Regions from separate parts of the Homo sapiens genome. Here region 2 is linked to region 1. Evidence: promoter capture Hi-C in 16 types of primary human blood cells and fetal thymus (Javierre and others, 2016). All regions are on one chromosome and are shown on one strand. Each heading gives the region's core, a stretch centred on a gene start or on the middle of the fragment in contact. The rest is flanking DNA. Distances are from core to core; before and after follow the strand shown.

Region 1 (7,088 bases), core at 1,323-3,822:
ATTAGCAGTACAGAGATCTTCCACTAAAACCCTCTCATTTTTCAGTTGTTGGAACTGATAAAAAGAGTCTTGGGCCACACAACTGACTGACAGACACTTTTGCAGTCAACTACTACTGTGTCTCCTAACAGCCTCTATTCTCATGCCCACGGCTTTGAAAGGGAAACATGTTTGACTTAAACCCTGACTCCTTGAGGGAAGTTCCATTTACAAAGTTTTTTTTTTTTTTTTTTAAGAGCATAGTATGTTTCAGATACCATGCAGGATTGTAGGATTCTGGGATTCAGATACCATGGAGGATTCATCATTAAATCACGATACCCAAGCTCAAGGCGTTTATAATCTATTAGAGAAGACAGATCCCTAAATAGATGTTTCAATAATGTGATTGTGTTGTCATAGGAGAGCTAAGCTCTGGCACTACATGAGCTTCTGGATAAGAAACCTAACTCATGACCAGAAGACTTCAGGGAGAGCTATTTAGGAGCAGTGGCAAATGCCTGGACATACACATAAAACTAAGTAAGAACAAAATAGCCAGTTGGTGTTTTTATTTATCTGAATGTAAGAACATAGATTATCGATCAATGAACAATTGCTCAGATTTAAAAAGAAATGAGGAAAACTAAAATGTTAGTCCTCAAATTCCTGTCACTTCCCACATGTGCCCTGCAGTCATTTCCTGCAAATGGAAACTTCCAACAAAATCTCTGGGCTGGAGACCTGGGGTTCCAGTTTCTTTCAAGGTCTTGTGGTAGGGAACTAAGTGGGTGAGTAACCTGCCTTTGGCTTCCAGGGTGCAAACAGAATCATTGCTAACCCCCTTTGTGTCTCACAATGGGTAATGAAATTCATACTATGGCACCAAAGCACTTTGAGCTCTTTAGAAAAAGTAATCATACCAACTTAGAGCATTAAAACCACCCCGTATTTTGAAGGACTCATGATCTGCACTGTGCTTGGCTGCTGGTGGAAGCTTAAAGACACCAGTAATTGGCAGAACTTTATCTTAGACTTCCATTTGACCCTCACAACCTCACACATGATTTTACACAGCTTCCTATAATGGGGGAGAAAAGCCCTTCTTTTAAATCTAATGTTAGTTTAAATGCTAAGGCTTTCAAAGTGGGCCTTTAAAGTCACTTTTTAGAATTTGTATTTTTTTTTAACCTAAAATAGACATGCCAACATTATTCTGACTAAAAGAAGTAGACAAGGTCATTCAACTCCTAAAAGCTTATTTTCCAAAAGCACAGTTAGGTCTCAGCTTTCAGGGTGCTTCTGGCTGTATCAAAAAGACAGAATATACTGGTCACTGTGTTGTTTTCTGAAAGTGCCGAGGGTAATCTGTGTATGAGTTAAAGGGCCAATTTCCTATAGGAACCTTCTCTTAGATGGGATTTTTTTTTAATTAAACAATGTTGGTGAAATATATTTAAACGTAAATCACAAATTCGAAGTCTTCCAAATATTTATTTACTAATGTGGAAGACATGGAAACTACAGTAATCTCATTTAAAGGAAGTTACTTTGATGTGCATTTGCTTTTGGCGGGGTATGATTGCTGACCTGCCTTTGAGGGCAACTTCCTTTGGCTCAGGTAAGCAGGCAAACCCGTTTCTCCAAGGCGATTCCAACCCCACGCCCCTCAAAACCTTAAATCTTAAATTGAGTTATTGGGTGCAGGTCCTTTCTCCCACAGAACCTCCCAGCTTCCGGAATAGAGGAGCGGGGCAGAAATATCCTGCTTTTTATTTCAGAGCTGACGTTTGCAATCCTAGTGCACTAGCGGAAAAAAAAAAAAAAAAAAAAAAAAAAAAAAGCTGAATTTTCCGCGCTCTCCTGGCAAATTGGCGTCCGCTCTCCGACGCTAAACCAAAGGAAAAGGAGTGTTCAATGGCGACAGGGCGCTCTTTGAAGCCGGCTCCTCACGCGGATTCTGGCCCAGGCCGCCGCTCCGGTCCCAGTCCGGCTGCAGAGCGAATTGGAGAGGATGGCACCTCCTGCTTCCCGGGGGGCGGAAGGAGCGCCAGCGCCTAAGGTGGGTCACCTGCCAGGAAGGGAATACGCATGGTGCAGACTCACGTGGGAGGAGCACAGGTCCCGGGTACAAGTGCCGAGCTGGCGACTTAGAGAAGAGGTAGACTCGGGCTCAGACCAAGCAGGCGTAAGGGAGTAGACGGGACGTCCCGTGTTTGCAGTGACGGCGGAGTCACCCATCCCAGCAGCCTCACCTTCTTGGAGCGCTGGTCCCTCCCCTTGGACTGAAACCCCAGGGGCCACCGCACCGGGTGGGCGGGACCGACTACTACCCGACCAGCCGCTGGAGCTGCGTGCCAGGCGGGGCTGTGCGGAGCAGCTGAGCGCAGAGCGGAGCACCAGGCACCTAGCGGGCCGGACTCTGGGCGGCACCCGAGCGGGCCGGGCAGCAGTGGGCGCTCGCGATCCTCCTCTGCCCAACGCGCTCTCCCTCCGGGCCCGGCCTCCTCCGTCCCCTCCTTTTGCTCCCGCTCCTCCTCCCGCTCCTCCCCCTCCTCGGGATTGAGCACCAAAACGCCCGCCTGCAAGGTCCTCTGCGCCCTGGCAGCCAGGAGTCGCCGCCACGACAGCCGGGTCTCAGTGGGTGCCTGCGCCTTCTCCCCGCCCGCCTGCCCCGGGCCATCCAGAAACTTGCTCTACCCGCCGCGGGTGCTCGGCAGTGCTGCCCATGGCCCAGCCTAGGAGCCTATTTAGGGCGCCGGACGGGCTGGACAGAGGCGCGGCTCAGGTGAGTGCGGCGCGCGCGGGGTGGGAGAGTGGCAGGACGCAGGTGTAGAGGGCTCCGAGGTGCCTTTGTCTGGCGTTCTGGACTTCGGGCAAGTGCAGAACCTAAGAAGAATCGAGGCTGGAGCAGGTGGAGTGGATGCAGAGGGAACCAGGAAGCAAAGGCTGGGGATTTTCCCATCCTCCTCACCTCCTGCCCTAGCACCTCTGCTCTGGAAGTCCCGAGGGACCGGTTGATCTGTAAGGACAGGGACCCAGATTTCTGACTCTTACTGGGTTGGATGTTTTCCCCCCCTGCAGAGTCGTGAGGTTCGCTCCTGCCGGCCGCTTCGCGACCGCAGCTTCACCATAGGACCCTGTAGGGCAGCGAGAGCGCAGCACTCAACGGATCCTGGGTACCACCTGGGGCCAGAAACTGGGGCGAGGACACAGCCCGCAAAAGTAACTCGGCTGAGGGAGCCTTTGGGGGTGGAGAAGCCTTGGTCGGGTTTGCCTTTGCATTTGGTTGGAGATAGGCATCTCCCAAAGAGAGAGATTGAGGTGACAGCCCTGACAATAAACCTCTCATCCCTAATGCCAATTACATGAGGGTCTTGATTTTTTTCTTGTTACTTTTTACTGATTTTTTTCCCCCTTCGTGGTTTTCTATTTCCGGGCCCTTGGGTAGTGGCAGCGGATGGAGGTGAGGGATGGCGGGGTGCGAACCCGCGGTTGGAACGCCTAGACCCCAGCTCCCAGGAAGGGTCTTATTCGCGGAGCTTGACCTCTCCAGGTGCGCTCTACCAGCCAGGGGGCGGACGGCGCGCTGCTCCTCCTTCTAGCCCCAGCCTGTCCCAGGAAGCGGAGGACAGACCCAGAACGTAGGCGGATGATGGGAAGAAGAAGCTGGAGCCAAAGCCGGGTGCCGGCGCGGGATGGGGTGTGCTGGGCTCTGCAGTTATAGGTCTATAACTCTGCAGTTATAGGCGCTATAGGTCTTCCATCTCTTTCCCTCCCCTGGGAGCCAGCGATTCCTCGCACACTCAGGGCGCTCTCTTGGGCCAAGGGTTGCATCCTCCCTCTTCCTCCTCCTTTGCAGATCCAGTGGTACCCTTGCCTCGCCTTGCGCGAGTCTCGCTCCTCCCTTTCCCACAATGTTATCATGAGCTATTTTTATCTACAACTTGTGCCAAGATGCTTTTGGGGGGATTCTAGGGAGGCCACTCCAAATCCACTGTCTTTGCGCTGCGCTCCGAGAAACAGTCTCCTGTTAGCATGGAGCAGCCTCAAGGAGTGGCGGGGAGGGTGGCCGAGAACGGAAGGAGCCAGTCCGCCCTCTTCTCCTCCCTCAGCCCTAGCCCCGGAGGGAAACCCCGCCACCACCAGCTCGGCTGCGCCTCCCGCCAGTAGCCCCGGAAGAGGGTCCCCAGACGAGTCCCCACGCTCCCGCTTTCAGGCGCTGGGTGCTTGGACACTGCTGAGGCAGCAGCCTGGCACAGGCAGGATCCTTCATTCCCACCCGTGCGTTCTCGCTTTGCAGGCAAATCTCATTTTATTTTGTTGAAATGCTTCCACCCAAGGGTTAATTCCAGGAATTCCATCTTTAAAAAAAAAAGAAAAAAAAAGGAGGGAGAAATAACCCAACTTCTGCCTCCCTGCATTTCTAAAGCAAAGCGCATCCTTTGACGTTCGGATTTTTTTCTTGCTTTCTGCATTCCTGGTAATATTGGGTAACACTGGGTGCAATTAGAATAAGCCTTACCTACTGAAATTCCAGGAGACGCGCGCTCCGCTGCAAATCCCTGCCTTACCCTTCCCGTTGTACATCCAGCGCTTAGATTTTCCCCCACAGGATTGCAGAAATAACATATTGAAATGGACCATTGTGTTACATAAGGTTTTCTCCAGCGCTAAGCAGAGAAAGAACAGCTTCTAAAAGAGTCTTTCCAGGTTTTGGTTAGCCCATCTAACTCTTTCAGCTGAGTTTGACAGGGATGGACAACTTCATGACTAAGCACTCTTAAGTGGAAGCAGTTAATTACAACAGCAGCATAGATGAAGATTCCTTAGTGAGGCTTATTAAGCTGTGCTTCTAGACTGTGGATCCTCTGTGATGCCACAGGGTATACAATGCTCTGTAGTTTTAAGATAGGAGATTTTTGTTCTGAGAAGCTGGTGAGAAATTGGCATCTTGAGATGGCATCGGAAAAAGCAAAGGGTTCTTTACTTTCCTGTGGTTATGTCTAGAATGAAGCCTCAAGCCCCCCCCCTGGGTCCCCCTAAAAGTTGGAGCATGTACTTTTCTTATTAAAATAAGAAATTATTTTACTGGAAAAATCTTGTGAGGGTTGGGGGGGGGGCCTCTGAAGGGAAAAGCCACATGGAAGCTTCTCTTGCCTTGAATTGAAACTCGATGGTGACTAGGAAGGGGCTAGAAAGATGGCCTGGGTGGTGTAAATTGCTTCACTCATGCACACTGCCTTTCTGAGAACATAGCAGCTACCCACAATGGCATATCCCCACCGTGGTTGCTAAATCATGTCTGTCTATGGGGGCTAAAGTTTGGAGGAAGGCACAGTAAGATGTATCTGGTGTCCTGATGAAATTGAGCCTGTAGGCTGGGTCAGTGCTCAGGCACCAGGTTTCCGGGCCTGCATCTAAGCCTGGGTCCCTGTGTTAGAGACAGTTGTTGCAGGAGAGTGGTAACTTTTTAGCAGCTTCCAGGGAAATGCAGTAACTTTCCAGCTAGTGCTGGAAAATATCAGGGCTATTCCCAGTTTTTTTCCCCTCAACCTGGCTACTTGACCTGGTGCTTTCAATTGAGGCTGCTCTTTTCTTATGGCAGAAGGCAGGAGAGTGCTAGCTGGATTTAAAGCCAACTTCTTGCCCCATGACCTTGGGCAACAATTTCTCCCTCCCTGACCCTAAATTTCTTCCTCTGCAAAACAGTGATGAAAAGATTATTATAAGAAAGTGAGAAAATGTATATGAAATGCATCTTGCCGATTGGAGAACACTTGTGCAATTGTAAAGGGTAAAAAATACAAAAAATTAAGTTTTATCGTAGATCTATTTTAATGTTCATTTTAATCATAGTTTGCATATGTCTGAGTAAATGACATATGCTAAACATTAAGTGGGAGAGATTTCTTTTAATTGGCCAGTCTCTTCTTGTGATCACTCCACCTGAATGCTACAAGCACCGGGCCTCACTACTTCTCAGAATGATTCCTTTCTTGTTTTCAGGATCACAGTCAATTTTTAGAGTGTTTTTCCTTTTAACATAATACACATTACATGTCTTAAGAAAATCTGTTTGAAGAGAGGGCCCTGATGTTAATTAATAATTTTTTTAAAAAAGGAGAAAAGTCACAAATGGGGAGTGACTCCACTGGGGAAAAGTAAAACATGACCAGTGTCACGAGATGACCCGGGTCCCCCTTGTCTGAATCTTTCATCAGCATAATGCACTGGCTCCTCATCATTGCATTTTAGGTGTTGTTCCAAACGTGTCTCCAGAACCTAACTCAGTGCCTGCCTGGCACTTAGACATTCAATAAGTATATTTGGAATAATTGAATGAGTGATTGGACTGAATCTTCACAGCAACCTTGGAGAGCAGATGGCGTCATTTCTATTTTAAGGATTTGGAATCTGCCGATCGGAAAACTTAATTAATTTTCTAAAGGTACAAAGGATTCCAGACTAGAATTCAGGCCTGTCTGTTCTTATTCCACTCTACAGTCGTGCTTGTAGTGCCCTCTCTCTTCAGACTCACTTAAAACCCTTCTAAGCAGTTGGAACCAAACATCCTATTTAGGGAACACAACCTTCCCTTCATAGAAGGATTTTTTTTTTTTTTTGTGGGAGATGGGCCTCTTTCTCCTTGTCCATATCTCCCAGCCCTGAACTAGGGCTTAGTTGAATGATCCCACCTGGGGCCTGGAATCTTGAAAGACTAGCTAAAGGGCACAGGGACATTGGAGTGTTTATTTACCACCTTGGATCATGGATCAAGTGGCGTTGGCAGCAGTATGCATGTCCCAAGCTGTGGTCCCAGAGGTGCCTTTTCTGCAACACCATCTTGATGTGCCTCTGGTGCCCAGGTTCCTTTCATTCCTTCTCATTTTCCAATCCTGGCTTTTCAGCTTCTCAGCAATTCCTAGAGGCAACCCATAGTCTTCAAGTGAATTCCCTTTCTCCCTGACTTAGCCAGAATTGCAACCCACTGATGTACAGCTTCTCCCCATTCATCTTCAGGCCTGTCTCCAGCATGAAACATCCTTAGCTTCCTCTACCCATGGGGAATGAAGTCTGTAGCTTTTTCAGATCGTTAGAATAATATC
Region 2 (7,088 bases), core at 1,999-4,498, 1.3 Mb after region 1:
AGACTGGTTGTTATAAACTTAGTTGTGTAAAGTCCAAGGTCCACCTGGTCTTCCCAAGAGGACACGTGTGTCACCGTGTGACTTTTCACATTGCACAATTGGTGTCTTAAGCCTATACCATGAACCACCTAGAACACATTACAGAATTCGTCCATTCACATTGTGTGCCAATCTAAAAACTTAAAGACAGAAATTTAAATATAGATCAAGGAGATACTTTGTAATGAGGTCAGCACAGAAGGTTTAAGGGAGAGGGTCCACTGGCTGGAGTACAGGAATGCCTTTTTTGTATGCTCTGGACCCTCTCCACCAGGCTCAGCAAGACTGACAAGTCTTACGTCCCAGTCTGACTTCAGCCCCATCCTGCCTCCTTTCTCTCTTCATGGGTTTTAATCTGAATATTTTATACAAACTTAGTGTTGGCTTAAAGTGTCCTTCCCCAAGCGCTCAACTACCCCACCACAAACCACCCACGGAAGTAGTCTCAGCCTGGTTCAAAGGAGCGAACAGTCAGGCTTGCAAGAGCCTCTTCCGTAGCCTGCCTCAGTTTACCAGCAGTTTCAAGAGACAGTTTGCTGCCAGGAAACAACCTATGACAAGCACAATGCACTCCAGTTGCAGTACCTACTTTAAACCAACAACTGTTCTCTGATGCTTCTCCCTTATTACCCACAATGACCCCGGATAGTGAGTTTAGAAGGCATTTACTTCCCAAACGTAGGTCCAAAGCAGACCTAGACAGTGTAGCTCCAGATACTTCCAGAGGACCCAACTACACTGCCAGGTCATGTTTGGCTCCTTTTGCCGGAAGGTGAGCAGGAACTGCTGCTACACTGGGCCATTTCTTGGTGCCCCCAATGCCTGATGGGTCAGGAGTAGCTAGGCCATTACAGCAAACATTGCCTGATAAGGACAGGCCAGCAGGGGCTCAGACATTAGGTGGTTGTTTGGTCACCTTTGAAACAAGCAACTTTGACAAGTATTGGCCAAGTGTGAGGGACTCTGAGGACTGACATTAGGAAAACAGATAATCTTATGGTCCTTCCAGACCAACTGCAGCTGCAGTTTAGGATTTGAAAATCATAGCTGCCCATCAACTGACAACCATGCCAACCTGTCAGCCATTTCATCAGACTTGCTGTCCAGCTGCGGAGTGTGGTTACCCAAGGGCTCCAAGCTCTTTGCTGTTATTCTTGGGATGGCCCCAAGCCAAACTGAGTCGAGCCATTTCTACCTCATGTGGAATTCCTGAGTGAATCCTGCTCTCGTGCTCCCTACTGGACTGGCAGGACTGGCTGATTCACATTATGATCTGACAGCTTCCCTCTTCATTCTAGGTCTTTTGCATTTCTAGTTCTCTCAGCATCTACTTCCTGGACAACTGAACAACAAAGCCACCATTAAGCATCAGTAGCAGTAAATGTAACATGGTGCAAGGAGGCGGAGAGAAAGATTTGGGACCGCCGCCTCTGTAGCCCAGCTAGAAATTTTCATCTCCTGGTGAGAGGTAAGCACACTGGCACAAGGATGGGGAAGACACACTGACAGAATGTAGCCTCACTTTCTTGTGCTGAGCACAGGTCCTGTGCACACCTGTCCATCCACTTCTGAGTCAGTAGGCTCCTTTTTCCAAGTTTGAGTCTCGGACAGTGAGTCTGGTTTCCCAAGGAGTAAGAGCAAGAGGCAGAAAGCCAACTTGTGTCTCCACACGTCAGAGAAGCAGCTCAGAATTCTTTAAACAAGTAGGATAACTTTGCTATGTGTAGGTATTGTCACTAGGCCACACACATGAGCATGTGGTGATTAGCAGTCAAGCCCAACAACCCTGTGGGCCTGTCAGCCTCAGTCAGGATCTGAACACAAGATCTCTGAAGATAATCCCAATGAAGAAAGATGGGGAAGAGGAAGTGGAAAACCAAAGCATAAGTTTATGAAGAATCAACTAAGAATATTTCAGTCATTTAATACTTCAGTCATTTGCAGAGAACCCTTACCCCGATTTTACAACCAAAAAAAAAGTGGCCAGCGAAGTCTCTTGTCCTACGTAACAAACAACTGGTTTCAAAACAAGAGCCATACTACCACCTAGAGGCACATACGATCTACACTGCCAAGAAACCATGATCCCTCTGCCCAAGTCACCTATTTTTAATCCAGAAAAAACAGGTGGAATCTCCCACTGATGACACCGAGCAGAACTCTCGTGCCCAGGAAGTTCTACTGGGTGGAGCTGGCCACTCTTCTGTAGTAATACAGGGGAATCCCAGCAAATAAGATGGCCCAAATAACTGTAGCCCCATGGGTTAAAGAGGATACCAAGCTGGGATTTGGGATATTCAGGTGACAGAGTGGCCTTTCTAGATGTAATGTTTCCTTATCCTTCTGCATGTCAGTATTCTCAAGCCTGAGATGCAAGAAAGCCAGCATGCAAGGCCCTTCCCTCTTGCACTGTGTTCATGGTGTGCAGGTAAAGAGGCAGCAGGAGCAACAAAAGGGCTTCTCTCACCATTTCAAGGACAGCAGAATGGGGATGTCATCCCTAGCAGCCTCAATTACCAGCAGAAGCTAGTCTTTCAGGAACAGGTTCTAATGTATGAGTCACAAGGATTGAGGGAAACAGGTACCTTCACTTCAGTTCCAGCATCATGGCCAGTGTTTCCCAAGTAATGGAGAGTTCTTATGCTCTCAACTGTGGCATATACCTTTTGCAATAGTGATCTCATCTCCACAAGTGCCCCCTGGGCAAGATATGCAGCAGCAAGCAGCTGCAGAGCAACCCAGGTCTCAAGTCCAGCAGCTTTGGGATGAGAAGTCTGCAAAAGTGTTTACTCCTGGGGCCAGGAATGCAATTCTATGAAATGGTGCTGGGCTTCTGGGAGCACTATCCCACAGGTCATCCCACAGCCATCCACATGAAGCTGGAGAAAAAGGACTCTGCAGAGCTTGCATGTAACAATGCTGACCTCAGGAAGACTGTGAGCTACTGATCTCTTCTGATAGGGCAGTGATGTCCCAAGAAGGCTCAGCTAGAGCACACGGCACAACACAAGCACCAAAGCAACAAGAACAACTCCCAAGTGTCAGCCATTACCAAATCCCAAGTAATCTGTGCTTCAGAAGACAGAGGTTCTGGCACAGTCCTTGCCTCAGACATTGTCTCCTCCTCAGCAGATATAACTAATACAAGAATATGAAGGACCCCACTGCTCAGCCTTTGTATGAAGGCGTCTCTAAGGCAGCTACTACAAAGTCATCTCCACGGACCAGGACAGCAGCCATATATCCTTTCAGAGAAAGCCCCACCAGACCTTGATGGAAGGGCACCCCAACATCTGCCTGGCCTGCATACACTTAGGGCATAGTCACCTGACGCTTCTCCATTGAAAATAGGAGATGTCAAGGGAGATGCAGCCCCAGCTGTTGCCCTGTCAAGAGCCCCAGGAGGCCTCTGTGCTGGAGCAGGTGTGCAACCCCCACCACCTTTGCTGAGAGCTGCCTGGGACTAGTGTTTTGAACGAGTCACCTGTGGACATGGACCCACAGAATCTGAGGGGACCCACAGAATCTGAGGGGACCCACAAAGGAGCAGCTGAATGGCATGGTTGACCTGAGTTTTTGAAAAAAGCCCCAACTTTGAGACAATTTTCATGATTTTGGGCTTTAGGATGTGGAATCATTTCTCAAAGTATTGTGGAGAGTTCTGTCGTTTCGAGCAGGTCCTGCTAGTGCTGCCATACATAGCTCATCAGGCCAGCCTACATAACTAGGAAACACCGCTCACACAGCAGTGCCAGCCTTCTAGGTGAGCAACACTTCCTGAAGGGCAGAGTTGCCTAGGAGGTGCTTTTATGTAAAAGCATGTCCATCATGGTTTGTGTTCTTTCCACTTTACTTGACAATAGTTAATGTAGTTACGAAATGTTATAATTTAAGCAATACAGTTACCAAGTAAAAACGGTCTTTTATTCTTGTTCTCAGTCCTGAAGACTATAAACTCTTTGTATAAATTATGTTGTAAGGAGTTTAAGTCTGTTGGATGTTTTTCAAGTTTACATTCTAACCAATGTCATGTGATACTAGTCTACAGAACAAAGCAGGCTTTGTACGTATTTCCACGGCAAAAAATAGTTCATAAGCCAAGCTGATTGTGTTCATGTTTTCCGTGAAAATTACTGCAAACAAACTTGGTACCTGGGATCACGTGATTGTAACATGGGATGCTCGCCTAACACTGAGAACATTTGCCTGCTTAGCACGGTGCCCGGCCTGGTGGGTGGGGGTGGGGGTGGGGGTGGGGGTGGGGGTGGGGGTGGGGTGCGCAGAGCAGCCTCTAAGCACTGAGCTCAGACTCCTGCCAGGCAGGAGAACCTGGGCTCTCCTGCTCATCCATGGCTGCCTCCCCAGGCAGGAATTGTCCACATTTCAGAAGCCATTTGTTCAGGGGGATGGCATTAGTTCACACAGGATCCAGACGAATCTAATGAAAATGATAAGAGTAACAAGAACTCCTCCCCCAGTGTATTCCTCAAATCCGTCCAGGAGTTCCAAGAGCCATCAGCTTGTTTCCATTCTGGCCCTTGGCTGAGGGTCCTTAAGCACCACCTGGTGGCCATGAGGCATCACAACAGACAATGAAATGGTAAGTTCTTAGGAACTTAGCATTCTGACATCACCCCACCCAACAAAGATCATGTGCCCTAGCAACAATGGAACTTTATTATTTAGAAGTCACCCCTTCTCCTAGGAAAGGAAAAAGATATATCACCCATGCTCAAAGAAAATGAGCCAAACTTGAGTTTAGGAGATGGCAGCCACACACAGCAGGCTGTCTTGTAAGGGGCACAGCAGCAACCCCAGGCCACAGAGGGCAGAGCCTCCAGGACCCATCACTGGAGATGACTGCCTGGGCAGACTCACTTCACCGTTAGAGAAGTGTGGCCTTCCCTGGTGGCTCTAGGTTCACAGTACACAGAATTACCTGCTTTGAGGCAACGCTTCTCTTACCAAGTAGTGACTTAAGAAACAAGATGTATGTAATACTAGTGCCTGGGAAGGAAAAACCACCAAGTATGGAAGAGATCAGTTATGACAGCAGACAGCCTCTTTCACAAAGTACACTGAAGGATTCCCGGGTCACTGCCTAGGATGGCTCCTCCGGCTGCATTCCAAGGTAAAGTATTCCCATCAGATCCCTTTATCCCTAGAGTCCTCAAGGCCACCTCCAGGAACCCAAGGCTTCTAGTCCTTTTCCCAGGAAGCCAGGCTGGCTCCTTTGTCTACAAGCATGATCACAGCAGCCCCAGGAGCCATTTCTAGAACAGGTCAAGTGCTGACTGCCAGTGATCAGACACTGTACCTGAAAGCTGAACCCCCCTCTTCCTGTCATGGAGTTTGCTTCTTCCCTGGTCTCCCCCCTGCATCGACTTTCATCCAATGCACCTGCTGCTGGCTCAGTCCTCCTGGGGCCACATGTAGCTCCTAAGGATTAAGACATATCAAACTCCAAGTTGGAAATGCTAAGAAACAGTTGTCCAGATCAGGCTCCCCTTGTCATGCAACAACAGGATAGAGTGGTTTCTGTAGTTCAGTCCCCTTCCTTTAGGGATTAGAAATAAAAGATGGGAAATGAGGCAGAGCAGCATTCACTTTCCATTCCAAGGTGTCTTGACAAGCAGAGATGGTCTTGTTGGAAAGCCCATAAGCTCTTCAGTTGGGAGAAAGCCGACAGTTAATGTTTTCTGAGAATGACTTTCATTGTATTTAAGACACTAAAACGTACTCAATAACAGCATAGTCAAGTAACAAGCGAGTTCAGGTGATGACTCCTATCTACTTCCACCTGGAACAGATGAGACATTTGTCTAATAGAAAACATCACATCTTCTATAGTCTTCATTGCACATTTAAGTCAAAGGATTTTGTACAAGTTTAGTCTTTCCTCACAATTCACCATGCAAGTTCAGAAAAGCAGAACTGATGTGTCAAAGGATGTTAGGAAAACCCTGGTTGGCCCGTAAGTTGCTTTTGTAGTCCCACCCAGCCAACCATCCTTAAGAGGGGAATCACACAGCCCAGCCTCAGCACAATCAGCACTCCACTGCAGAATTCTAGGGATCAGGCTGGAGCCCAGCGGCGGGCACTGGAAGAAAGTTAGAGTCCTACGGGCCCCGCCCCCACCCCACCCATGACTGCTTCTCCCTCTGGGAGGGCAAGAGATTCAGCCCCTTCTTCAGTCTCCCTGCCAACAGATTCATCTCCCCTGGGCTCTGCAGCATGAAGACTGTCAGCCCATTCTCTCCAGTCCAAAGGCTGCTCTTGAGGGATCATTCTACAGGAGCAGATTCCCATCAGAAGGGATTTCATCCTAGGGAATGCACTAAACACCAAATCCTTGGAGATGCTCTGGTCCTCCAGGAAGTACGTGCCCAGAAGTGATGTCCCCAGAAGTGATGAGGGCACCCTATAGTCCTAGGGAGGAAGGGGTAGATGAGCAGGCCATAGGAACCTTCCCTTTTCCGCAGGGCCACTTCTTATGGGCCCACTCTGCCTTCAGATGAGCACATGGAGCTTCTAATTCCCAGGGTGGCCCAGGGAAAGCAGACCTGTTTTTAGAAGGCTCCTAAGTTTAGGACATCCTGCCTCTATTAGCAGCTGCCCACAATGACTATCAAGTTATCTTGGTCAGAAATACTTCAATGGCTTCCACAGCCCTTTCTGGGTCCTCTTCTCACCAGGGAAGATAAAGCTTGGGACCACTATCCAAAACCTCCCAGTTTCCCCCGAAACATTGCCACCCAGGGAGGTTAGGATGTCAAGGACAGGGTTTCATCTGCGAAGATTATGGAATATGCCCCTCCTTCCCGATAACTAAGCAAGGAAGGTACGCCTTCAGCAGCTAGTCCATCATGCCTCCCAAAAAGTGGGAGGAAAGCACTCAAGCCTAACTTCTGAAAGGTGGGATGAAAAACTATTCTGTTGGTTCTGAACAGTCAGTTCCCTCTGAGGATGTCTGGATGAGGGAGAAGCGGAGGGGAGTGGTCAGACCTCAGCAGACCACTTTCATGTTCCAGGCCCCAGAACACCACGAG

What was found. Contacts are between HindIII fragments. The CHiCAGO score rates a contact against its expected background, and 5 or more counts as called.
Region 2: a contact is called between a fragment that was not itself captured here and the fragment with the promoter of HS3ST1 in region 1, in 1 of 17 cell types (megakaryocytes). The highest score is 5.9, in megakaryocytes.

Annotation. Positions count from the first base shown.
Region 1 is chr4:11,424,378-11,431,465 of GRCh38, reverse strand. HS3ST1 (heparan sulfate-glucosamine 3-sulfotransferase 1) reads left to right here and starts at 2,572. Exons shown (of 2, transcript NM_005114.4): 1 at 2,572-2,767. RefSeq lists a silencer at 2,427-2,606 and an enhancer at 2,697-2,916. The HindIII fragment of the contact is 3,893 bases long and covers 1,239-5,131 here.
Region 2 is chr4:10,155,465-10,162,552 of GRCh38, reverse strand. No RefSeq gene overlaps it. Among named protein-coding and RNA genes, the nearest start is that of WDR1, 42 kb to the right of the region's middle. The HindIII fragment of the contact is 6,999 bases long and covers 1-6,747 here.